Regions from separate parts of the Homo sapiens genome. Here all the other regions are linked to region 1. Evidence: promoter capture Hi-C in 16 types of primary human blood cells and fetal thymus (Javierre and others, 2016). All regions are on one chromosome and are shown on one strand. The core of a region is centred on a gene start or on the middle of the fragment in contact, and the rest is flanking DNA. Distances in the headings are between cores, read along the strand shown.

Region 1 (6,381 bases), core at 2,962-5,461:
AACCTGCAATCTAAACCAAAAATAATGAGCCATGCGAAAAATGAGAAGTAGCAGCATCTTAGGAAGATGGAATTGCTGATGCTGTAACAATCGTGATGTGTTAAAGAAAAAGAAAGGAAGAATTGTGGCTGAAACACAAGGAGGGAAGAGTTGTGTACAATAAAGTCTGAAAGACAAGTAGAGGTCAGAGATCATCTAGGATTTTTAAGTAGAGCCAAGGAGCTGGAGTGCGCTTTCCATGTAAAGAAAAGCCAAAGTAGGAGGAGGCTAAGCAAGGGTGTGGTACAACAGGATTTGCAGACCATTTGGCTACTGTGTGAGAAAGGTTATTTCACAGAGATAAGACTGAAATTAAGGAGACCAGGTAGGGGCCTACTGCAGGTGGCCGGGTGAGGGCTGACGGTGAGCTGGGTTGGGATAGGGGTAGTGGCAAGAAAGATAAGTAGAAAGATTTAAGATATGTTTTAGAGGTAGATTTGCTGATAATGTGGTTGCTGAAGTGAAGTAAAAAGAAGAAAATATAACTCCCACATTTAAGAACTAAATCCACACTCTATACATGTAAAACTCAATACAATTTTAAAAACATATTTATACAACACACTGTAAAAATCTTATAGCAAGTTTGTATAGAAATTTCCACTTTCTTCTTTTTTTATTTTTTTGAGACAGAGTCTTGCTCCATCGCCAGGGCTGGAGTGCAATGGCGCGTTCTCGGCTCACTGCAACCTCCACCTCCTGGGTTCAAGAGATTCTCCTGCCTCAGCTTCCCGAGTAGCTGGGACTACAGGCACATGCCACCATGCCCGGCTAATTTTTGTATTTTTTTAAGTAGAGATGGAGTTTTGCCATGTTGGCCAGGCTGGTCTCAAACTCCTGACCTCAAGTGATCTGCCCACCTCGGCCTCCCAAAGTGCTGGGATAAATTGAGCCACCTCGCCTGGCCTCCACTTTCTTCTTACTAAGGAATTGGTAACCATCTTTACACAGCACGGTAAAGGAATAGTCTCTGGATAATTTTCTGTGTCTCCCACATTATTCTTATTCCTAATAAGAATAATAAATAATGATGACAAATAAATAAATAAAATATCAAAAAGATAAAAAAGACTTAAAAATTTTTTTTAAATGATGACGATGTGGTATAATCAGATTGTGGGAACTTACTGCTTAACGAACAATGAACCTATTATACACGTTAAGATGTTAACTAAACCAATTACACACGCTAATTAACATGTTAACTGAACCAATTACACATGTTACTTAACATGTATAATTAACTTGGCTATGTACCTAGTTAATTCCTAGGTCCCAGACAATATTCTAAAATGCACAGATCCTGGGAAGTATGATGCAGTTTATGAGTCACAGCATCTTTTGCACCCAGAAATGCTTATCTAATGCAACAGCTCTGGGCCTCTATCTTTAATAAGCCCTCAACTGGGTTTATTAAAAGGTACTCTCCTTTTGGCATGTTTGCACATCCTGACTGGTCAGTATCATTTGCAAAAATCTGAAACTTACACAGAATCACAAAATTGTTTGTGCAACACCATTTACCATCCCAACAGCAGTTTGAGAAGTTACTGCTTAAAGCACAATAAACCAATTATACATGTACAAAACTACAGTAATAGGAAACAAGATGGCATGTTCATGCATCACTGTCGCTGGAACATAGTATGTAAGGTAGAGTAGCAGGTGGTTATGCTAGAAAAGCAGGAGCCAGGTCACAGAACAATGCTTGGACTTTATCCTGTGGACAGAAATAGTATCAAAGGTTTTAAAAAGTGAAATAATGTTAGATTCCTCTGGCAGCAGGGTGAAAACTGGATTTGACTTCGTTGATAAAGCAGGCAAACCTGTCAGAAAGAATCGACATTTATGAGGTAAACATCTAGGTAACGTCTAAAAGATGGGGTCACTGAATGTGGAACCTGTAAGAAAGGAAATAGCCAAGGATAATCCTTAAGTTTTAATTTGACTGCTTGCATAATTGGTGATGTCTCAATTGAGGAAAAAATTACAGAAAATGAGTCTGAAAAACTCAGACCCATCAATCTCTAAAATCCCTTTTTTTCCCCCACTATATCTCATTTTATAGATTAAAAAAACCTCAGATCAACAGACATTAAATACCCTAGAGCAGGCACCAGAACTTATGTATCCTGCTGTTTAGTATGGAACTTATCCCATTAAAAACAACAATTTTTACGTCTTCATCATTTTTACTTTGTATATTTTATGAACACATGAACTAAAATCCGATTTTAAAACTGGGGAATTTCTCTTCTGTATAATAACACACTAACAATTAGGGAAGTACTTTTATAAAATAAGTTTAAATACTCACTTCAAATTCTTTTACAAAATAACGAGTTTCACCTTGAATAACTGGTCTGTGATCCAAAAGCCTTGAATGAATTTCTCCAAGATCTATAAAGATAAAATGAAATTCAGGGTTAATCCATGCTAAATGGCATAATCTCTAGCTTGTTTTACTCTCTCCCTTCCCCACTAAGAGATGAAGGTTAAAATCCAGTTTAGACTATGGACTAAGAAGAAATCTCATCCACTGCCAGTGGATGTGTACACTGATACAACTACTTTTGAGAACAATCTTTCAGTATTCAATAAAGTTGCAGACATGTATACCTAGCATTTTCATGCCTAGGTATGTACCCTGGAAAACTCTTGCACAAATGAGTAAGGCCATTTATACATATTTATTACAGCATAGGTGTAATATCAAAAGAAAAAACGCAAAACACCTTAACCATACTCATACAATGGAATTCTATCAATCACCAAGTAAAAATAAATACATCAGAGTTACACTTATCAACATAAATATAAAAAATAATACGTATTTTATAATAAATATAATAAAAAAGCAAGTTTCAGAAGGATTAAAGCAATTTACATAAAACTTTAAAATATTCAAAATATTTCCTTTTGGGATATAGACAGAAGCAACAAAACTATAAAGAAATGCACAAGAATAATAAACACCAAATTCTGGATAGTGGCTACCTTGAGACGAGGGAGGGGAACTAGTGCAATTAGAGCAAGACACAGTGGGGCTTTTAGTAATTTATTTATTAAGGTGGGTGGTGAATGTTCATTGTAAGTCTCTTTTTCATAAGTCTGAAAAAGTCATTAAGAAAAGGTCTGAATTTAAGTCTTTTGGTGAGTCAGTTTATTATTCTTCTTAGTTACAACTATGTAGTTTAAAATGTAAGTCTCAAAATTCCTTGAGAAATTAAATCTAAGACAATGTATTATTCATATTCATTCACTGGCAATGTTCCCCAAATTTTTCATTTTTGCAGACATACGATGGGCAGGTTTCAATTCTCTATTTTAATGAATTTTATTAGTACATATCTTCTTAAGCATGTCAAGTAGAAAAAATAATACAAGCACTGTATATAAGCACTTTATATCTGGTATATATAAAGCACTACAACTCAACTGTCAAAGACTTTCACGCAGCAAACAGCGTTGTGAGCTTTAGGAGTCAAACCTAAAGCAGATTCTGTGAGAATCTAGGTTGTAACCTTCTCCCAGCTCAAAGCACACAGAACACATGGACATTTCTGAACGTGAATGGTTCTTTACAGTGCTATAGAGCGCCTTCGTAAGTGTATCTCACTTACTCCTCGCACGACCAGGAACAGATCGGGTAGGAGAGTGAGTAAAGCCAGTGACCCGAAGTCACTCAACTCCTAAGCGACTGCCTCCCGCCTCCCAGGTCCAATGCCCTTTCCACTACACGTCGGTGGCGAGGCTGCCCAAAGGCTCTGCGCCCAGGGGTCCTGAGCTTGCGGAATGGACGGGGGCGGGCCTGATGGCTCAGGCTGCGACAGAGGAAAGCGGGGAAACACGAAGAGTTGGGCTGGTTGGTTGTGGTGGGACGCATTTGGCGCGGGGAAAAAGGCGGGGACCGACCACGACTCCCCCACCCGCACAAACGCACGCGCGCCAGCCCGGGACCCGGGGGTCGGCCCGGGTCAGAGGGCGCCGCCTGGGAGATGAGGCTGTGCTGGGATCCACCAGGAACTATAGCCCTGACACTCCGTACCCTTGATAATGAGGTGCGCTGAGCCCGCAGTCCCCAGGGAGTCCCTCTTCTTGCTGCCACCGCCCGGGGCGGCCTCACAACCCACAGGGGTCTCTGTCCCTCCGCCACTCATCCCGACCAGTTCCGCCCACCCGCGGCCACGCTGCGCCTGCGCAAACCCGGCCGCCCTCTTACAAGGCGCGCCCGGGTTTTTTTTGTGTGTGTGTCATTACAGGGCGCCGGAGAAATTTAATCTACCCAGCGGGCGGTTCCGGAAAGGCGCCTGCCGTGTAGTCAGGCTGTGAACTGGCAGAAGCTCTTGCCGCCATGCTGGATCAGGGCGGATGCTGCTAGAATAGGAAGGTGCTTGAACTTTGGAGCTAAACTCAGAGCCCTGGTTATTTGGCTCAAAGCTGGTGCATTCCAGTACAGTTGTCCTCCCATATCTGCTGAGAATACATTCCAAGACCCCCAGTAGATTCCTGAAACTGCATATAGTACTGAACCATGTATATACTATGTTTTTTCCTGTATATACATATGATAAAGTTTATAAATTAGGCACAGTAAGAGATGAACAATTAGAACAATTTAATAAAAGTTATGTGAATGTAGTCTCTCTCCCAAAATATCTTATTGTACCGTCCTGCGGGTAATGAAACCACAGAAAGTGAAACCTCAGATAAGGGGGGACTACTGTATAGCAAAGCCAATTAGCTGGGGGCTGTTTCCCTACTATGCCATGAGTGTGGCTGACTATTCCTGCCTTTCTTTTTAGACACCTGTTTCCTAGAATGCTTCTCTTGCTCCCTCTTTCTGTTCAAGTCAGTAAACTCACGTTGTATAATAAAGAATTTGACTGGACTTTGACTCTGGTTCCTGGGAGGTACCCTCAATCCTTAGAATTTCCCAAGTGATAGAAGTGTCTTTGTTATTCATGGTGGGCCTCTGGAAATACACCTGAGTTTATGCTAATGAGATGGCTCATGGAGGGCCCAAGATGATTTCAGAATGGAGGCTGGCCACACCAGAAGGGCCGGCCAACCATGAGGGCTTAGGCTTTGAGTCACATAAGCAGGCCCACCTCTGGGGAGCAGATTGGGGCTGGAGACTGAGTTCAGCCATGTGGCCAGTGATTTAACCAACTATGCCTACATAATGGAACCCCAGTGAGTACTCTGGATGTGGAAGCTCAGGTGAGCTTACTGGTCGATAATCATTCATCAAAGTGTCAGGAGGGGGAAGCGTTCCTGAGGACACGTAAGCTTCTATTTGGGAAATCTCCCACATCTCGCCCTATACATCTCTTCATTTGGCTGGTCCTGATATGTGTCCTTTATAATAAAACTGTAATAGCAAGGAAAGCACTTTCTTGAGTTCTATGAGTCATTCTGTGAAACCTGAGGGAGTAAAGCGAATAGCAATGAAACATCATGTGTAGAGAGAAGCTGCGTGGGTGAGAACTGAGGCACCCTAGCAGACAGTGCTCAGGCCCTGGGCATATGACAGAGACAGCTGGTCAGAAGTGCAGGTGGCCTGGGAACCCCAAAGCTTGTGGCAGGTGTCTGAAGGGGAGTCTTGAGGAGGACCATGCTTTGACCTCTGAAGTCTGTGCTAACTTCGGATAGCACTGCAGTTTAACAAACACTTACATGGCACTTGCTACATGCCAGGTAATACTGTAAGTGGTCTACAAATTTGCATTCATTTAATCCTCATGGCCGGCCTTTGAAGTAGTTATTATTAATGTCCTCATTTACAGACGAGGAGGCTGAGGCACAGAGAGGTTAAATGACTGCCTGACTTGTATGTGGCAGAAACAACTGCCTCTGTGTCTCTGTGTATGTGTTTAAGCATAGGTGGTGGGTGAAGAGAGAGTGGGGAAGGGAGATTTGGAGAGAAGGGAGAGAGAAGCCATATTAACTTTAACAGGCCACATGGGCTTTTCATTTTTTCATTCAAAAACATTTAACAAATACGTTATTGAGCAGCTGCTACGTGCCCAGCATAGTGCTAGGAGCTAAGACACAGTGGTGAACAAGACTAATGCAGCCTTTTCCTTTCCTCATGCAGCCTGCAGGGGAGCCAACACTGAATAAGTACACAATTACTTTTCTGCAAGTCTGTTGCTTGTAGCCTGTGAATATGTGTTCTAGCCATTTGATTATACACTATTAAGTTGTATTGTTCTCTGGGATGGTGAGGTCCAGCATATGCCTCTGTTCTCTCTCCGCTTTTATATAAATCTTTACACTGCGGCTCAGACAGCTAGGAGACTGAGAAGCAACATTGGCAGTGCCATTTCGCCTGGCACA
Region 2 (6,443 bases), core at 2,073-4,572, 2.4 Mb after region 1:
AAGCAATTCTCCTGCCTCAGCCTCCTGAGTAGCTTGGATTACAGGCGCCTGCCACTACTCCCGGCTAATTTTTTGGTATTTTTAGTAGAGACAGGGTTTCACCATGTTGGCCAGGCTGGTTTCAAACTCCTGACCTCAAGTGATCCGCCCACCTCGGCTTCCCAAAGTGCTAGGATTACAGACGTGAGCCACCATGCCCAGCCCACAATTTCTTTTAAAACTAAACATATACAGTTGTCCATCAGTATCTGCAGGGGACTGGTTCCAGGTCTCCCTGCAAGTACCAAAATCACAGATGCTCAGGAATCTGATATAAAGCAGGGTAGTACTTGCATATAACCCACACACATCCTCCTGTATACTTTAAATCATCTCTAGATTACTTATAATACCTAGTACAAGGTGAAGACTATGTAAACAGTTGTTATACTGTATTTAAAAAAATAATTTCCACTTTCATTTTAGATTCAGGTGGTACATATGCAGGTTTGTTATATAAGTGTATTGCATGATGCTGAGGTTTGGAGTTCAATTGATCCCATCACTCAGATAGTGAGCATAATTATACTGTATACAGTTTAGGAAATAATAACAAGAAAAAAGTCTATACATATTCCATACAGACATGATCATCCTTTCCTCCCACCCCTTGATTTTTTATTGAATTCATGAATATTTGCTGAGTCCATGAATGTGGAACCCACGGATAGGGAAGGCTGACTGCACCTACATTATGACCTGGCAATTCCACACCTAGGTTACTCACCCGGGAGAAATAAAAGCATATGTCCTCAAAGAGGCTTGTTCAAAAATGTCCATAGCTTTATTCATAAATAACTGAAAGCTGAAAACAACCAATAGGAGAATGAATAAACTAACTGTGGTAAATTCAGACAATGAAATACTACACAATAAAAAAGGGAGGAACCGGCTGGGCGCGGTGGCTCACACCTGTAATCCCAGCACATTGGGAGGCCGAGGTGGGTGGATCACCTGGGGTCAAGAGTTCGAGACCAGCCTGGCCAACATGGTGAAACCCCATCTCTACTAAAAATACAAAAATAGTCAGGTGTGGTGGCACGCACCTCCAATCCCAGCTACTCGAAAGGCTGAGGCAGGAGAATCAGCTTGAATCCAGGAGGCAGAGGTTGCAGTGAGCTGAGATTGTGCCACTGCACTCCAGCCTGGGTGACTCTGTCTCAAAAAAAAAGGGGGGGTGGGGGGAGGAACCATTGATACATACAACATCATGATGAATTCCAAAAATGTTGTACTGAATGGAAGAAGCCTTACACAAGAAAGCACATACTGTTTATATATTTATCATCCTAGAACAAGCAAAACTAATCTATGGACTAATCTAAGGTGGGGGCAGGGGAATCCAGAGAAAGGGTTACCTTTGGGAGTTGGGCCATGGGGTTGGGGACCAGCTGTGCAGGGGAGCTTTCAGGGCAGTCTTAAGGTACTGGATCTCACCAGGGGTTTGCCTTGCTTGTATACATGGCCTTCCTTGCAACTTGCTGAATGGCACACTTATAAACTGTGCATTTTTTGTATTTAAATTTTACCTCAAAAGAAGAAGAAATCAACCAACATTGAACTCTAATAAAAGATATGCATGTTGGAACATATGGGGAGAAGTGTATTGCTGACTGCAACATACTTAGAAATGCATTAAAAAGACAAGATGCTTTGGGAGGCCAAGGCGGGTGGATCACCTGAGGTCAGAAGTTCAATACCAGGCTGGCCAACATGATGAGACCCCGTCTCTACTAAAAATACAAAAATTAGCCGGGCATGGTGGTGCACACCTGTAATCCCAGCTACTCAAAAGGCTGAGGCAGGAGAGTCACTTGAGCCCGGGAGGCAGAGGTTGCAGTGAGCCGAGATCATGCCACTGCACTCCAGCCTGGGCAACAGAGTGAGACTCCATCTCAGAAAAAAAAAAAAAAAAGACAAGATAGATTGGTGGGTGGATAAACAGCTGGATAAATGGATAAATAGTAAATGAAGTACAGAAGAATGTTTATTGTTGAATCTAGCTGGTGAGCATATGAGTGTTCACCGTACAGTTTCTTCAATTCTGAGCTATGCTTAAAAGGTTTTATAATAAAATGTTGAAAAAAATTGATCTCGAATTAGAATTAGGAGTTCTAACAAAGAGCTTCTGCTATAACTTACATATTTCTGTAGGAGGTATTCCCATGAAGTTGGGGCAGTGGGAAGGCAGAGAAGTTGCAAGGAGAAAAATCTGTCAGTAATGGAAGGCTCTTATATTGCATTCGTTTCCCAAACACTGGCATATCATAGAGCTTCAATAAAAGCTTTTTGAATGAATGAAATGAATAAGACATTCCTCAACCAATGACTGCAGAAACTATAAAGGAATGATTCTGACATGAATATTACAGAAAACTCCGTGAGGGTATATACTTAGGCCAAAGAATAAACAAGTGTCTGAAATTATCAGACTTTAATACTCATTCCAGTGAATGTTTCTAAAGGACCAAAGGGATGAAAAAGAGAAATTTAAAGTCATATCTAAGACTAGCTTTTTGACTTGACACGTGACTCAGCCACTTTTGTATTACCACTGCCATCTTTGAATTAACACTGGAGAAGTATCTAGAACAATTGTGTTTTTCTCAGAGGTTGGAGGAAACGAGCATGACTCTTCCCCAAAATGCATTACTTCTCAAAAACTTACAGGGCTATTCTCTTTTATAGGTTTTTGTTTCTGTTTTTGTTTTTGAGACGGAGTCTCGCCCTGTCGCCCAGGCTGGAGTGCAGTGGCGCCATCTCGGTTCACTGCCACCTCCGCCTCTCGGGTTCAAGTGATTCTTCTGCCTCAGCGTCCCGAGTAACTGGGACTACGGGCCCAGCTAATCTTTTTTGTAGTTTCTGAAAATTTCTTTCACCTGTAGTACATGCAGACCCTGTCTCCATTTATTTTCCTTGGCCTGTTCTTTTTTTTGACAATCTCACTCCATTGCCCAGGCTGGAGTGCAGTAGCATGAACTTGGCTCACTGCAACCTCCACTTCCCAGGTTCAAGAGATTCTCGTGACTCAGCCACCTGAGTAGCTGGGACTACAAGTGTGCGCCACCATGCCTGGCTAACTTTTGTATTTTTAGTAGAGATGGGGTTTCACCATATTGACCAGGCTGGTCTCGAACTCCTGACCTCGTGATCCACCCACCTCGGCCTCCCAAAGTGCTGGGATTACAGGCATGAGCCACCACACCCGGCCTCTTTTATAGGTTTCTATGTAAGTAACATAAAGACTCTGGCAAGCAGTTAAAGCTCTTTAATTGTTCACCATTCTGGGCACTTAGGGTTGTGTTCTTTCTTGGTTTTGGAATAGCTTATGCTTACCTCTTTAATAACAGAGTAGAATTCTACTGTATAAGAGATCCTGGGCCGGGCGCAGTGGCTCACACCTGTAATCCCAGCACTTTGGGAGGCCAAGATGGGTGGATCATGAGGTCAGGAGTTCAAGACCAGCCTGCTCAATATGGTGAAACCCCATCTCTACTAAAAATACAAAAAGTTAGCCAGGCATGGTGGTGCATGCCTGTAATCCCAGCTACTTGGGAGGCTGAGGCAGGAGAATCGCTTGAACCTGGGAGGCAGAGGTTTCAGTGAGCCAAGATCGTGCCATTGCTCTCTAGCCGGGAGACAAGAGTGAAACTCTGTCTCAAAAGAAAAACAGAGATCCTGGGGGACAAGGGTGACACCCTTTACCAGGACAAGAGGCGTATTCAGGGACAGTGGGCTGGGGTAACTCAGAAAATCAAGATGAAATTTTTTTCCCCAGAAAAATCTCAAATTTTTCTTTGTTTTAACTGATTTCCGGTTTGACACTCCACAAGCAAAGTTAATTTTTAGGAACTTCTTAAGTTTAAGGACTATGTATTAGCACTGACCATGTGTCCCGCATTTTTGATGTATCGAGAAACAAGAGGGGCTCAGCTGTTTCTTGTCTGTCTTCACAGTCAAGGCCACATACTTTTTCCTGCCTTTTTAAAAAAGTAAGCTCAATCAGAAAAGCTGAAAAATAGCACACAAACAGCCAAATACCCCTCACATGGATTTAACAACTGTTATTATTTCATCATGTTTGCTTATCTCTTGATAGATAGGTAGGTAGATAAATAGACAGCAGATACCATATTTTTTTCCTAAGCCATTTGAAAGTAAGTTGCAGATGATACGATGTATCATGCTGACACACTTCAGAATGCATCCCCTCAAAATATATATCAAGGCTAGATTTTGAAGAGAGAAGTGGTGATGCTTTTTTTTTCTTTTTTTTTTTTTTAAGCTTGACTGGGTCATTGAGAGAGACTATGTTCTGGGCATTGTATTGAAAGAAGGTAGGTTGAAGTTCAGGTAGTTTTGGAGCCTGCAAGTTTTTTGTATTTTTGTGTTTTTCAGACAGGGTCTTGCTCTGTCCCCCAGGCTGGTGTGCATTGGTGTGATCACCACTCACAGCAGCCTTGACCTCTGGGGCCCAAGCCATCCTCCCACCTCCGCCTCTGGAGTAGCTGGAACTACAGGCATGCACCACCATGCCCAGCTAATATCAGCCTGCAGTTTTGACTTGGACTTGGATTTTATAACTGGCTCAACAAAATTATATCCACTGTTAGTCTGTTTGGGCTACTATGGCAAAAATACCTGAAACTGGGTGTCTTTTAAACAGAAATTTATTTCTCACAGTTCTGAAGGCTGGGAAGTCCAAGATCAATACCTCAGCTGACTCAGTGTCTGATGAGGGCCTGTTTCCCAGTTCACAGACAGCCATCTTCTCCCTGTGTCCTCACATGGTGGAAGGGGCAAGGGAGCTCTCTGCAGTCTCTCTGTAAGGGCACTAATCCCACTCACAAGTGCTCCACCCTCATGTCCTAGTCACCTCCCAAAGGCCCCATCTGCTAATACCATCACCTTGGGGATTAGAATACCAGTGTATGAATTTGGAGGGGAGATAAGCATTCAGTCCATTGCACCCTTATTTCCAAGGCCCAGGGATAACGCTGAGCTCCTCTGTGGGTGAAGCACATTCAGCTATAAAACAGTATCTTAAGATTTTCTTCTCGAGTTAGATTTGGTACGTAGATAACGACCTTTAACTATTTGCATCTATGCAGCTTTTACTTCCACCTCCTCAACCCACTGTCTACAATTCTCACATAGAATTAAGAATAATTTTGCATAGCAGATAATTGGCTGAGCATGCGGTATTCTTTTGACCCATTCAAGTGAATAAAATACTGTATAGGAACACTGTCACAATTTAAATGAAATTAAATTTCTTGCCCCTTTTCCTCCCCCGACCATTTAGTCTTTGGGTAGCAACAGAGATCACTAACATGATATAACAATTAATGTAGTTTTGTTTCAGGGCATTAATTTGATACAAATTGTAATTCTGTTCTCATCAGTTCTGTAAATTGCTTTACTGTAATTACACCAAGTATTTGATCAAATATTGCCGATATTTCCATCTGTTTAGTGTATGGTATTATGATTTCAAAATTGATTCTAGATTTAGTCCAATAATTTTTAGAATGTCTCTTTCTATATAAAAGTCAATGCAGAAATAATAATATTTTGAGATAAAAAATAAAGGCATCTTCTAGTTAATATAACAGATTTTAGTCACATTTATATTCTTTAATGTTCAGTGTATGTATCCACTACATGAGAAACTCAAGACACAAACAAAATGGTTATATTTACTGCAACACTAAGCAATATGGAACATTAAAAAGAATATGTATTCATAAACAAGACAAAAGATGGTATAGCAACATAAAATTTACAAGAACATTATAGCTGGACTGTATAGGAAGAGCTTGACTGATTTCTTTCCACAATGCATTTTCATCAAAACTCATACATATTCAGAGATACAAATAGCATACCAGTGAATTCAATGAACTGCCACTGAAACCAAAACATTATTTCCTAGCATCTGTTTGTGGGAATTATGTAAAATACTTAATGCAATGTGTTTTCATTGCAATCCTATTTTTGTTTCCCAAGCAGTGAATTTTCATTTAAACCAATATGTTTACCTGAGACCCACACACATGCATTTATTGGAACTGAAATACAGCTACAGATACAGGCAACACGTCTGAGGCCAAACCAATGCATTTTGATGCAACTCAGCCAATTTTCCACAACATGTGTTCTGATTCTCTAGGGATATAAAGCCCCATATAATGGTAAATGCACTGAATTGTGATGACAAGGAGGGGAAACTGATGTCTGGATTGTAAAGAAATACAGGAGCCTCAGCTCTCTGGAAACCTTGCCACCAAAAGCGTGCTTCAGGGACCAGCAGCATTGGTGTCACCTGGGGAGATTGTCAGAAAGACAGAATCTCAGGCCCCACTCTAGACCTACTGATTCAGAATCCAAATTTTAACAAGATC
Region 3 (6,647 bases), core at 1,480-3,979, 2.4 Mb after region 1:
GAATTGTTTGAACCCAGGAGGCAGAGGTTGCAGTGAGCTGATAATTGCACCACAGCACTCCAGCCTGGGCAACAGAGCTAGACTCCGTCTCAAAAAGCAAAACAAACAAACAAAAAAACCTGTTTTAGCAAGTCTTCAACATTAGTGATTAGGGGTAGAATTTGAAGTTTCCAGGTTACTGTGGCAGTGTGTACACCTGATTAAACACTACTCTTCCAGCTAATTTGACAGAAATGCAACAATATATTAAATATGGAAGGAGAGGGGCAGGTGATGGGAGAGAGAAGTTGTGAAAAGCCCCACAATGTGTCCTCATCCTGGAGACACTGAGTATGTGCTTGAAAATAGGCTGGTTCCATCGTGTAATGGTTAGAACTCTGGACTCTGAAAATAGGCTGATGTATTGGACTAACCTGTAATTGTGAGAAATAATTTATTTGCAGAAGATAAAAGACTTAGAGGACATTTATAAATATAAATGTTATTAGAATTAGGTGACCTTCAAAGGAGTACTGAATACGCCTGTTGGTTTTGGTCACAAAGTTTCCCAAATCATTTTTGTTTTGCTTCGATTATATTTACCTAATCCTGATAAGTTTCACCCGAATGAATAAATGTTATCGCTCTGAGCTTCAAAGTGCAAATATTTTACCAGCCTCATTGAAAAGCACAAATATTATCTTTAGCATAGATTGGTTTCTCAGGGTAGAAAACTGCATATAAGAACAAATCTCATGAAGTTAAGGTTATCTCATTCCCTATTTAATTTGTCCTTTAGTTGAATAGTGAGTTAGAGCTAGAGACATGCTTATAAAATTTTGTTTTCTGATGTCTTCTCTGTAGGACAAATGGAAGGAAAGATTTTTGGAAGCAGCTTCTTGTGTCCGACCCGCTGTGATCAGCTGCTACTCCCAGGTCTGGGGTTAGATGGCTTTGTGACTTTCCTTCTCTGGATGGCATTTTGCTTTCCTCTGTAAAATGGTGTGATGAATGAGATGACCTCTAAGCCTCTTTCCATGTCTGTCACTGGACTGTCCTCTTATGTAGCCATTTAAGTTTTCTAATTAAAAAAAAAAAATTTAAAATTTGATGCTCAGTTAAGTTACATCAAAATAATTAAAATGAAACTACAGGTTGAGTATCCCATATCCAAAACGCTTGGGACCAGAAGTGTTCTGAATTTCAAGTTTTTTCTAGGTTGGAAAATTTGCATATACATAATGAGATGTCTTGGGGATGGGACCCAAGTCTGAACATGAAATTCATTTATATTTCATATACACCTTATGCACATAGCCTGGAGATAATTTTATACACTATTTTAAATAATTGTGTCCAAGAAGCAAAGTTTTGGCTGCTGTTCGACTGAGACCCATCACATGAAGTCAGGTGTGGAATTTTCCACTGATGGTGCCACATTAACTCTCAAAAAGTTTTGGATTTTGGAGCATTTCAGATCTCAGATTTTCAGACTAGGGATGCCGAACCTCTATGTAATTTTGCTTTGAATGTGTCTGGGACACTGGGGAAATTTTGATTTTTAAGATTCATCTCTAATTCTGAAAATAACCTGGTTGGGTGCAGTGGCTCACGCCTGTAATCCCATCATTTTGGGAGGCTGAGTTGGGCAGATCTCCTGAGGTCAGAAGTTCGAGACCAGCCTGGCCAACATGGTGAAACCCTGTCTCTACTAAAAGTGCAAAAATTAGCTATGCATGGTGGCACACACCTGTAGTCCCAGCTACTTGGGAGGCTGAGGCAAGAAAATCGCTTGAGCCTGGGAGGCAGAAGTTGCAGTGAGCCAAGATCGCGCCACTGCACTCCAGCCTGGGTGACAGAGGGAGACTTCGTCTCTAAATAAATAAATAAAATCTAAGTGATGGCACGTCACCCCGGGGCATCTTTCCACTTTCACATTCTCTCCTGGCTGCTTTACCTGCCCTGCCAGCACAGTCCAGAGGGCCCCCACTAGCATTCCACATGCCAGGCCTTGCTTAGATGGAAGGCCTTTTCTTCCATCTAATCTAACCTGTCTCTTGTCCCATTTTTCCAGAACCTCTATTGGATGGCATTTTCTAGAACCTCTATTGGTTACTTACGGCATAATGAGATATATAGAGGTTATTGCTAGGTCATCCTTCTTGACTCAAATCTCATTTAAGCAATTAGCTTCCTTATGAAACTTCATAAGGGTCATTGTGGATCCCTTGGCTGGCTGATGGGGCTGAGATCTTGGGATAGGCAGGTTTTTCCTTGCGCCTCGAATGCCACGTTGAATACTCCTCATGTCTTTGGAGACATGTCCTTCCCTTCGAGCTGCTCCCAGTCAGGTGAGGAATAAAATGCTATGATGGCGTGAAAATTCTCCCTTGGTCTCATCCATAGATTTGCAATCACCTAAAAAAAAAAAAGGAAGAGTGTGCCAAGCCACCCCATATAGAGCCACTGTGTGGCAGCACTGCCTCTCGCCAAAGCTTGGGCCACTCGGTGTCAGGCAAAGTGCAGTGGGGTGAGTTTCCAGTTCACTGGCGGTACAGGTAGCCCCTAGAAGCGATCGTGTGCAGTGAGAATAGCTAGCATTTCAGAGTGTTCACTATGCGTGAATACTGCTCAGAGTGCATTCTACTTATTAACACATCAACTCACAAAACAGCCCTACTGGTATTATCTTTATTTTACTGACAAAGAAATTAAGACAGATAGGAAAAGTGATTTGCCCAACGTCACACAACTAGGAACTAGCAAAGCCAGGATCTAGACCCACGCAAACCTCTCTTTGAAGCTCATGCTTTGCTACCAAATATCGTGTCATTCTGGCATTCACGAGGAAATCTTGAAAATAAAGCAAAAAGTTGTAAAATGGTATCAAGTCCACAATCGCTGTCTTGATGTAGTGCAAGCACAGTGGTATACAAGGGACATCCGTAGATACAGAGGAGAGGGTCAGCAAACCTTCTCTGGTAAAGGCCAGATGGAAAACATTTTAAGCTTCGGTGGTCAGATGTGGCAACAACTTAGCCCTGCCATTGTAACGTGAAAGCAGCCATAGGCCCTGTGTAAACAAATGAGGACGGCTGTGTTCCAATAAAATTGTATTTATGGACACCGAAATTTGAATTTCATATAATTTTCATGTGTCACAAAACATTTTTCTTCTTTGGATTTTCTCCCAACCATTTTAAAATATAAAACCATTCTAGCTGAGAGATTGTCTAAAAACATGCAGCGAGCCAGACTGGACCCCCCCAGCTGTGGTTTTGCTGATCTCTGGTATAGAGGAAAGAAGGGTGGCTAAACTTAATTCGGTGAGTGCCTACCATAAGCAAGGTGTTGAAAGTGCAGTGACCAGCAGACCGAAATAGTTCTCCATGGGACATTATGTTGAGTGAAATAAGCCAGGCACAGAGAGACAAATATTGCATGATCTCACTCATGTGGAATCCACATAGAAGTAGAGAATAGAACAGTGGTTACCAGAGAATGGGAAGGGAAAGGAGCAGGGGGGTGATGAGAGATGGATCAACAGGTGCCAAGCTATAGATAGAGAGGAAGAATAAGCTCTGGAGTTCTACTGCATAGGAGGAGGATTACAGTTAATAATAATGCATTGTATATTTCAAAATACCTGGAAGAGCAGTTTTTGAATGTTCTGATAACAAACAATAAATGTCTAAGGTGATGGATATGCTAATTACCATGATTTGATCATTACACAATGTATACATGTATTGGAACATCATGCTGCATCCCATAAATACGTATAATTACCACCTGTAAATCATACATTTAAAAATAAAATATTAACTTTTTGTTTTAAAAATAAATAGTCCTCCATGGACTAGTGGTAGAGCAAACAAACAAGCAATTGTAGGAGTACAAGGTTTTATTAGGGCAGGTGAAGGGCTTCTAACCCAGACTTGGAAGAGCAAGGAAGGGTCACCAGGGAAGCAGTGTCACATAGGGACCTGAAAGATGAGTAGGAACTCAAGACAAGGCAGGGGGAGAGAATATTCCAGGTAGATGGCCTATGCAGTGAGAAGAGATAAGCTTGAGGCTAGGCACAGTGGCTCATGCCTATAATCCCTTTGGGGGGTCAAGGAAGGAGGGTCCCTTGAGCCCAGGGGTTCAAGACCAGCCTGGGCAACATAGTGATACCCCGTCTCTACAAAAAAACGATTTTTATTTTTTTATTTTATTTTATTTTTTTTGAGACGGAGTTTCACTCTTGTTGCCCAGGCTGGAGTGCAATGGTGTGATCTTGGCTCACTGCAACTTCCACCTCCCGAGTTCAAGCGATTCTCCTGCCTCAGCCTCCCTAGTAGCTGGGATTACAGGCATGTGCCATCATGCCCAGCTAATTTTGTATTTTTGGTAGAGATGGTGTTTCTCCATGTTGGTCAGGCTGGTATCGAACTCCCAATCTCAGGTGATCTGCCTGCCTCGGCCTCCCAAAGTGCTGGGATTACAGGCATGAGCCACCTCGCCCGGCCCCAAAAAAAATTTTTTTAAGGCTGGGTGAGGTGGCTCACTCCTGTAATCCCAGCACTTTGGGAGGCCTAGGCGGGTGGATCACCTGAGGTCAGGAGTTCAAGACCAGCCTGGCCAACATGGTGAAACCACTTCTCTACTAAAAATACAAAAATTATCTGGGCGTGGTGGTGGGTGCATGTAATCCCAGCTACTTGGGAGGCTGAGGCAGGAGAATTGCTTGAACCTGGGAAGCAGAGGTTGCAGTGAGCTGAGATCGCACCATTGCACTTCAGCCTGAGCAACAAGAGTGAAACTCTGTCTCAAAAAAAAAGAAACAAAATCTTATGTTTAATTAGGCAAGCAATGTGGCTGGCACCTGTAGTCCCAGCTACTCAGGAGACTGAGGCAGGAGGATGGGTTGAGTCCAGGAAGTTGATGTGGCAGTGATTGCACTCCAGCCTGGGCACAGACCCAGACCCCAACTCTAAGATAAGAAGAAGAAGAGTTAGGTTTGAAAACCCCAGGCTGCCATTAACTCATTACTGGATATCAGGCAAGCTAGCATATCTTTGGGCGTAATTTCTTCATGTGCAAAGTGGATATAATGTCAATGCTTACCTCTCAGGCCATCAGTGAGAAAATGGAGACAAAATGTGATAGAATAGTCGTTATGGGTCATTGTCAGTGTTCTTTATTTGTAACTGAATCAATTGGTGAGAATAATCTGCAAGATTCCTTTCAATCCTGAAATACTATAAATTCTTGATCTTTATTTTTAAGTAAAGAGACCCCACTATCGAGGAGTTCTGGGTGCTGTCCACGTAAATGGTGACCTACTTCAGGACAACTGTGATTGCCTGAAGTTGAAGAAATATAGTGTCCCTTGCATTCAAAGGTGACATCAGTGATGGTGATGGTGGCTCTGCATGGGAAAAAGAGGTGCCAAATGAACACACATTCCACCTGTACTCCACATGGGAAAAACACCCTGAGCTGGCAGCTGTGGCCGATTTGCTAGGGTCTTAATTTGTGGTTGACCTAGACAGAGGTGCCCAACTGTGCCTGGCTTTTGTGAAGTGGTCAGCTGGCCCCACTGGCTCATGTTCAAAGAGTCACCTGATTTTTTAAATAGAAGAGCTACCGACTTGTGGTTGATCCTCCTTCTTTTAAGTAAATGGTCATATTGCACTTCTTGCTGCAAATAAGTTGCTAGAGCACATTTCTCAAGTCTGGGCAGGGACCTGCAGACTGACTTCAGCAATGGCATAAAATCAGGTGAATGATGAATCCAGAAAAGACCATAGGAAAAATAAAGGTAGAGGCATTTGGGTTGGTCCTAGGGCTTATGGCCACGTCCATAACTCTTTTATTCCTGTATAGTAACTATTAGGTCCCGCAAAAATATCTTCCATGGGGGAAGATCTCAAACTCTTCAGTCCTTGCAGAAGTGTGTGGCATGATTGTGACAGGCAAGAAAATGTTCTTGGATGAAAATATACCAGTGACGCCATTGAGAAATAATAACCTGCCAGCGATACTTGATCCGAAATCACTGCATAATGGAACCTGTGTCCAAAGACGAAGCCGAGTTCCCTTTGGCCTATGTCATGGTCATCCGCAAAGACTGATACATTTGAAAGACTCTTGAGGGCCATCTACACTCCCCAAAACATCTACTGTGTTCATGTGGATCAGAAGGCCCCAGTCACTTTCAAAGACGCTGTAAGAAAGCTACTGAGCTGCTTCACAAACGTCTCTGTGGCTTCTGAGAGGGAGTCTCTGTTCTACACAGGGATCTCCAGGCTCCAGGCTGACCTGCACTGCCTGAAAGACCTTGTGGCCTCTGAGGTTCCCTGGAAGTACGTCATCAACACCTGTGGGCAAGAATTCCCCTGAAAACCAACAGGGAAATACGTTCAGTATCTGAGGTTACGGAAAAGGAAAAATATCACCCCCGGGGTGCCGCCTCCTCCTCATATTATCAGAAGGACCAAATACATGCACTTGGAGCAGAGATAGCTTGTTTTCCTTCATGCTGTGGACTTGCATGAGAAAAATGCCTCCTCCCCACCATCTGACAATTTACTTTGGCTCTGCCTATGTGGCCCTTACAAGGGAATTTGCTAATTTTGTTCTTCAAAACCTAAGGGCCATTGATTTACTTGAGTGGTCAAAAG
Region 4 (6,164 bases), core at 1-2,500, 2.3 Mb after region 1:
CGCCCGCTCCCCCGCCCCCAGATCCCGCCCACTTGGCTCTACGCTCTTCTCCCCGCCCCCTTTCCTTTCCCGCGTAGGGAGGGCCGCGGCGCGAGGCCTGTTTGCGTCGCCGCCACCGCCCCGGCGCAAGCGCAGTGGTTCCCCCGGCCGCGGGGCGGGGCGGGCGGGGCCGTGCCGGGCCTCACCTCCGGAGCACTCCGCCCAGCAGCGACGCGTTGAGACACTCGGGTGGTGAGAGCCGCCGCTGCACTTCCGCCACCGTGACCTTGTACTTCGAGGTGGAGCTGAGGAGCGAGAGGCGACCCGGAACTGAACAGAAGACTTCGTTGGGGTTCACCACGCCGCCGAAGAGGTTGTCCTTGTTAATAGGGATGGCGGAGACGGCATTGCTGTTGGACTTGGACAGGGACACGGGGCCTGCGGAGACAGAGGGGAGGCCGCGTGTTGGGCGTCGTGGATCACCCCCAAATCCTGCCCGACCCCGGCCCTCATCCCGGCCAGGGCCGGATCCCAGGCTTTGGGCCACAGTCCCCGCTTTTCCGTCCGGCTCTGAAATTCTGTGGCTCTGCTACTTCCCTTCCTCGGGCTCGAGCCCTTCCCTACCTCACCCGGCGGCCGGGAGGCGGCCCTGCCCTCCCCCAGCCAGCCTGGCCTGCGTTTCTGCCTTGACCCTTTCCCCTTCGCCGTCAAGGGTGCTCTCTAGAGATGGGTGGTGAAATTGGTGACCCCTGAGGCGCTGAGCATCCGAGCGGAGTGGGCCCCAGATGAGGTCCAGGACCACGGGTTCAGGGTGCAGGGGAGGGAATTACATTTGCAAACCGAGAGCAAGTTACTTGTACTTCAGGGGTTTTGCTGGGTGGGGTTTTAGTGTCGGGGAAAAACTGCTTCAAAGACCCATTATTAAAATCAGCCGACAATTTAGATGGCTAAAGCACCCTGTAAACGAGCGTTTTAATTGAGGCACCACGCTGGGAAGTGGTGGATTTTGTTGTCCACACCACACGTCCCGTCTTTTTGATAAATAGGCCCTTTCCTATGTTCAATTTTGAAAACGTCTCAGTTTTGGAGATCCATTCCAAGGCCAGTTTTGAACTGCGGAGTGGGGAGGGAAGAACAGGCCTACAGTGGAATACTAGCAATGTGCCCTTTTGTTAAGTAAATACTTAACAGTCCTCTGCTAAAGCGCCTTTATTGGGAAAGTGGGTATATATACTTCCTAGTTAAAACCATAAGCTCTTTATTGCTGGACTCACCACTGTTAGAAAAAAAAAAAATAGAAGACCTGCAGAAAGTATACTAATGCATTACGTTTCTCAGCACCAGTGTAATTCAGATGCATTCACAACCATTTAAGTACAGTATGCATTGTATTTTAAAATTCCATTTGGAGACATCATATGCACACAATCTCATCACAGTGTTCCTTATGCGTTCTTTAATGGGGATATGCTAGAGGTATAGGGAGGTGGGGGGCTCTAGGTTTTGGATAGATCACTTGTGACATTAATAGCTCTGGGGAGGCTAATAGAGACAATAGGAGTTAAACGAACTCTTGAGAGATTACTAATAAAAGAGCCAATTATCATGTCGACTTGGAAAGAGCATCTCTTAAGATTTATCCCTTGCACATCTAATTTGACGTGACAAAGACTTCACAGATGCAAAAATGAAACTTTAAACTAGCTAACAATATACTGATTGGGGTTAGAAATGAGAACAGTTTTATATAGCATCGTCCTCTGGTGGTGCCTAGAATCCTGAAATGTAACATTGCCACCATAACCAAAAAAAAAGCTGCTACCAAGAGTGAATAGCATTTAATTCAGTAAACTTTATTTCTACTCACTAAACACAATACAGATTACAAATCCATGCAAATCACTTGACACTTTTCTAACAATTTCTCCTCTGAACAAGTATGCTAATATTCCTCCCATCTTCAAGATACTAATTTTAACCAAAAGCTAAAATTTTGTTAACCTAATTCACAAAGTTCTAAGACCCTTAAACAGCTAACAAGAAACTAAATTGAAGAACATGAATGTTTTTTTCCTCTACTAAAGAGTGCTTCTTATCATCTGTTCTTACATTAATGTTAAATTATTTGTACTATTTTAGCATTATACACTTCTTAACCTTCATCCAGGCAATGGATTAAACTATCAAACTGTTTCAAAATTGAAATGCCACTTCCAAATCAGTTCAACTACTGTACATTTTGTGTGTTTGTCCAAATATCATTAAACTAAATTAAATGGTCAAATCATGAGTCAGAACAAAGCTAGCCTGTTGGCATTACCAACATACTGAAGGCTGATTATTTAAGCATTGCTGTTCTGTGCCTATCTATTTGCTAATTCTGAGCCTTTAGGAAATCCTATTTGGAAAAAATAAACACATCTCTGCAAGTTCTTTTAAATAGCACTCTGCCTGTAAGGACATGCTTGGAATGCAGAAGGAAATGGCTTACCTTTCTTAATTACAGTTTGATCTGGGATGTTAATACCCGGGTCTTCTACATGCTGCAACAAAAGGATACACATGGATGTAAGTGTATCATCAAAACAAAAGGAAATGAATATTCCCTGCAAGATGGGAGGAGGGGAAGGTGTAGAATCAAAATTCCCCCTCCCGTATAATGACATTTATATATAAACATCTCATCTTGGCTTATTGGAATTTGGGGCTTTGCAACTCAAGAGGTTTCACTGCACACCCATGGCCAATTTCTCCTCCTCCAGCAAATAATCCATGTTTAAAAGGGGTGGAGATGGGGAATAAAACTTTCTTTGGAAATTAAATCAAGTGTTGGAGCACCTAATCATTCTCAGTCAGTTCAACATTTAGAAATGTACCTAGCTTTAGATTGGCGCCTCAGCGGCTTCTGACTTTAGCAATTCCAGTGTTCAGGCAGCGAAAGCCAGGGAAACACAATAGAAATGACAGGGGCGGGAGTAACAGGAGAGTGTTGGAAAAGAAAAGGTTTAGGTAGTATAATAAAGAGCAAACACACACACCTTTATGGAAAACTCCACATAAATTTTTAGAAAGACTACTGCCTAAGCCTGGGTATGATAGGAATATGAAAATGACCAAAACCAAAAAACCTTTGAGCTTGCTTTCCTGTTGTCCAACAGCAGGTTTGTTGTTAGTGTGGGGTGTTTTTCTTTTTCTTTTCTTTTTTTTTTTTTTTTTTACAGATGGATGGGTATACGTGTGCGCACTAGAGTCAAAACGTGATTAGAAAGTAAAATGAAGTCATGTTTTCTAATGCAGAAACTGACAGGCAATATAATGTCTGGCTGTGTTTACAAATTAGCACCAGGGCTGCTGAGATAGAAGATTTTGCAATCATTACCAAACACAGGCATTACCATTTAAAAAACTATTGCTTCCTTCTCTAGTCTTTGTCCAACAATAATACTGATTCGAACATTTTCCATTCTGTCTTGGATTTATGCTCCTGTTAATTGTGCCTGATCGCAATGATTCCGGGTGGATGGTACTAAGTTGCTTTATTACAGGTTTTATTATACTCAATGCTCTCATTTGTAACTTGCCTAAAGTGCTTCTGGATTTAAGTATAATTAAATTGAGAAATGTTCAGAAATGACTACTGCTGCAGTTCTTGTGTTTTAACTATATGGGGAAATATGATCCCTTTATGCATGCACCCTAAACCCATAAAGTAAATGTAGTGTGGCATAATACTTTTATTTGTGTTATTTCTAGACCTTGTCCATACAGGGAAGACTGTTAAGTTTAAAACCCCACTGAGATATTAATGATTAAATAATTTTCACCATCGATTTGATTTTCTTAAATATTTAGCAGTTATACTTACTAAAGGTTAACTGTTGCAGCAATGGGAAAAAATTGAAAACAACCTTTTTCTTGACCCAAATTCCTTTGAAAGAATTTTTTTCTTAAAAGATGGGGGAGGGAGAGGGAAAAACAGCAACTGGGTTTCCTTGTTTTTGTTTAATCTTTTAGTTAGTTTCTCCTACTGACCAATTTTGCCACAAAGAGTGAGTATACAGGTGTTAAGAATTCACCTTGAAATTTTTGCAAAGTAGAGCAATTCTCATTCACAGTAGTTCCAAAAGCTTGCAACATTATTTTGCAATTCAAATATTTTCAAAGAACAAGCAAGGAAAAGATTCAGAGTGCTTTGGGAAAGGGAACTAAAATAATCATAACTCCCAGTTCATGTTTAAATTGCTCTTATATAAATTAGTGCTCCTCTCACTTCCAAAAAAATGCACTGTTAAGTATCAGTTTCTAAAAACATGTAAGTATGAACACACATATACAGACATACAGTGCTCACTAAACCTTATACTGGATCAAGTGCCCACTTTCCTGCCTTCCATGCAAGGGCTGCTAAACATAACCAACAAATTTCAGTGACTAACTGGGCCAAATGAGAGATGTAATAAATTTTCTATTTTCCTACGGAACTTAAATAATGTTTTAAATTCACCAAGCAAGGAGGTAAGTTCATCTGACCATTTTCCTTACAATCTAATGTAGTAATCATTAAACTGTCAACGGACATACTGCTGCAATATTTGATGCAGTAATTTGAAATAGCATTTTAGTAAAAATCACATCCAGATACATTTCCTCTCCAAAGAAAAGCAGCTTTAACAGAAGCCTTTACAGCTTTAATAAAATTATTGGCTTGCTCTAATTCCATTTCAGGAGGGTTGTGAGGAAACCATAAATATATAGAATTGAAGCAGAGGTACTGGTTTAAGTTTAATTCCAGAAAGTATTTTCAAATTATCAATAGCCTGGTTTGCATTGTAAATAGTAAATGTGCTAATGCCATGCTTATTTAGAAATCATTTTAAACTGCATTTATTGATAACTAAATTAGAACTCAAATAATGTATTACCCAATAGTCTCGAAACATTTAATTTAATATGGAGTGTAGCAGGTTCTGATAGGCGTTGGGAACCTAGCTAATGATTTATGAGGTCACCACTTAGCACCCCTAGTAAGAAGAAGGCTGCATTTTAATGTCCCTCTGCTTGGATTTGCTACTTAGTTTTTCTTTAATCAGGATAGGGTGTACACATAACTTTTAGGTTTCACTTGTGCTTATAAAATCCGGTTAAAATGATCTTAGTGTGTCTTTTACACTTCCTTTTACATTTTGAGGACATTTAATGAGCTCTTTTGGTTGCATTTAACATCATTCCCAGGACAGGGAGAAATCTCCACGCCAGACTCAGCGATGGAAGTAGATCTTTTAGCAATTGAGACAGTTTACTGTCGTCGAGAGGAAGATATTGTTAATGGTGACATTCGTCTGATTTATCTGTGTTGGTGGAAATGGTAATGCAGGCATTGTTTGAGGGAGCTCCAGAAACCATTGTTCTGGGGTAGAACTCGCAACTACTTTGTGTGGTTCCTCAAAACGTCCCTCACTCTCCGCCTCCGAATAAAATGTTTTTATAAGGAAATACTAGGGAGAACCCGGGCCCACCGACTGTATGTTCCAGGTATCCTTTCTGGGGTAGGTAAGTAGGGGGCTGTGTTCCCTCCCGCGCTGGTTGCGCGGCCTCTTACCGGGACCTCCTCGATGGCGTGAGGTAAGGAGTGGATCGAGAGGTCTCCGAGTCCTGAGCTGAGCGCGTGTGGGCCGTGCAGGAGGTCCTCGTGCCGCCTGTAGTCCCTGCGAGGATCCAGGCCCGACAGCTGGTGAGGCAGCCCCCGGTGCGTGTGCAGGAGCCCAGACTCCTGGCTCTGCCTCTGGCCGGGCCAGCCTGGGTGCTGCGGCTGCGGCTGGGCGTGCAGGGGGTTCAGGCTGTAGGGGTCGTTGACGTGGGAGTAAGGATCTTGCGACTGGGGGTAGATAGGCTGGTAGGGTGGGGGGAAGTATGGGGGCTGGAAGTCGGCATTGGGGGTGTGGGACAGCGGCGGGGCGCTCGTGTAGGGAGATTGACCTACAGTGCCCAGCTGGGGCAACCGTGCCGTCCCGTTGCTGGTGCCGTCGTGACGGTCCTAGAAGAGAGCGAGAGGAAAGGTAAAGAACAAGGAATCAGGCGTCGAGCTACAACTATCCACACAAAATCCACTTGACAAGTCTGCGTGGGAAATCGCCCGTTCCCGTTGGCTGGCCGCCGGGAAAAAATCAGCTCTAAGTTCTTTTCAG

The links. Contacts are between HindIII fragments. The CHiCAGO score rates a contact against its expected background, and 5 or more counts as called.
Region 2: a fragment that was not itself captured here is called in contact with the fragment with the promoter of BLOC1S5 in region 1 in 1 of 17 cell types (M0 macrophages); the score reaches 6.1 in M0 macrophages.
Region 3: a fragment that was not itself captured here is called in contact with the fragment with the promoter of BLOC1S5 in region 1 in 1 of 17 cell types (M2 macrophages); the score reaches 5.4 in M2 macrophages.
Region 4: a contact is called between a fragment that was not itself captured here and the fragment with the promoter of BLOC1S5 in region 1, in 3 of 17 cell types (naive CD4 T cells, total CD4 T cells and naive CD8 T cells). The highest score is 8.4, in naive CD4 T cells.

What each region holds. Positions count from the first base shown.
Region 1 is chr6:8,060,178-8,066,558 of GRCh38, forward strand. It overlaps BLOC1S5 (biogenesis of lysosomal organelles complex 1 subunit 5), which reads right to left and starts at 4,212. Exons shown (of 5, transcript NM_201280.3): 1 at 4,088-4,212; 2 at 2,357-2,439. The coding sequence starts at 4,199. BLOC1S5-TXNDC5 (BLOC1S5-TXNDC5 readthrough (NMD candidate)) reads right to left here and starts at 4,237. Exons shown (of 13, transcript NR_037616.1): 1 at 4,088-4,237; 2 at 2,357-2,439. EEF1E1-BLOC1S5 (EEF1E1-BLOC1S5 readthrough (NMD candidate)) reads right to left here. Exons shown (of 7, transcript NR_037618.1): 4 at 2,357-2,439. RefSeq lists enhancers at 3,420-4,046, 3,656-3,845, 5,536-5,635, 5,646-5,795. The HindIII fragment of the contact is 8,031 bases long and covers 1-5,329 here.
Region 2 is chr6:10,442,259-10,448,701 of GRCh38, forward strand. The region is part of intron 1 of MIR5689HG (MIR5689 host gene); the gene reads left to right. Among named protein-coding and RNA genes, the nearest start is that of MIR5689, 5.8 kb to the left of the region's middle. The HindIII fragment of the contact is 2,000 bases long and covers 2,323-4,322 here.
Region 3 is chr6:10,508,244-10,514,890 of GRCh38, forward strand. It overlaps LOC101928146 (a long non-coding RNA gene), which reads right to left. Exons shown (of 3, transcript XR_001743961.2): 2 at 2,100-2,397; 3 at 417-1,060. It also overlaps the pseudogene LOC100422564. Among named protein-coding and RNA genes, the nearest start is that of GCNT2, 9.8 kb to the right of the region's middle. The HindIII fragment of the contact is 514 bases long and covers 2,473-2,986 here.
Region 4 is chr6:10,404,323-10,410,486 of GRCh38, forward strand. It overlaps TFAP2A (transcription factor AP-2 alpha), which reads right to left. Exons shown (of 7, transcript NM_001372066.1): 2 at 5,579-6,013; 3 at 2,471-2,522; 4 at 186-417. It overlaps TFAP2A-AS2 (TFAP2A antisense RNA 2), which reads left to right and starts at 180. Exons shown (of 1, transcript NR_145448.1): 1 at 180-3,605. RefSeq lists enhancers at 1-128, 1-541, 352-461 and a silencer at 1-221. The HindIII fragment of the contact is 5,708 bases long and covers 1-4,104 here.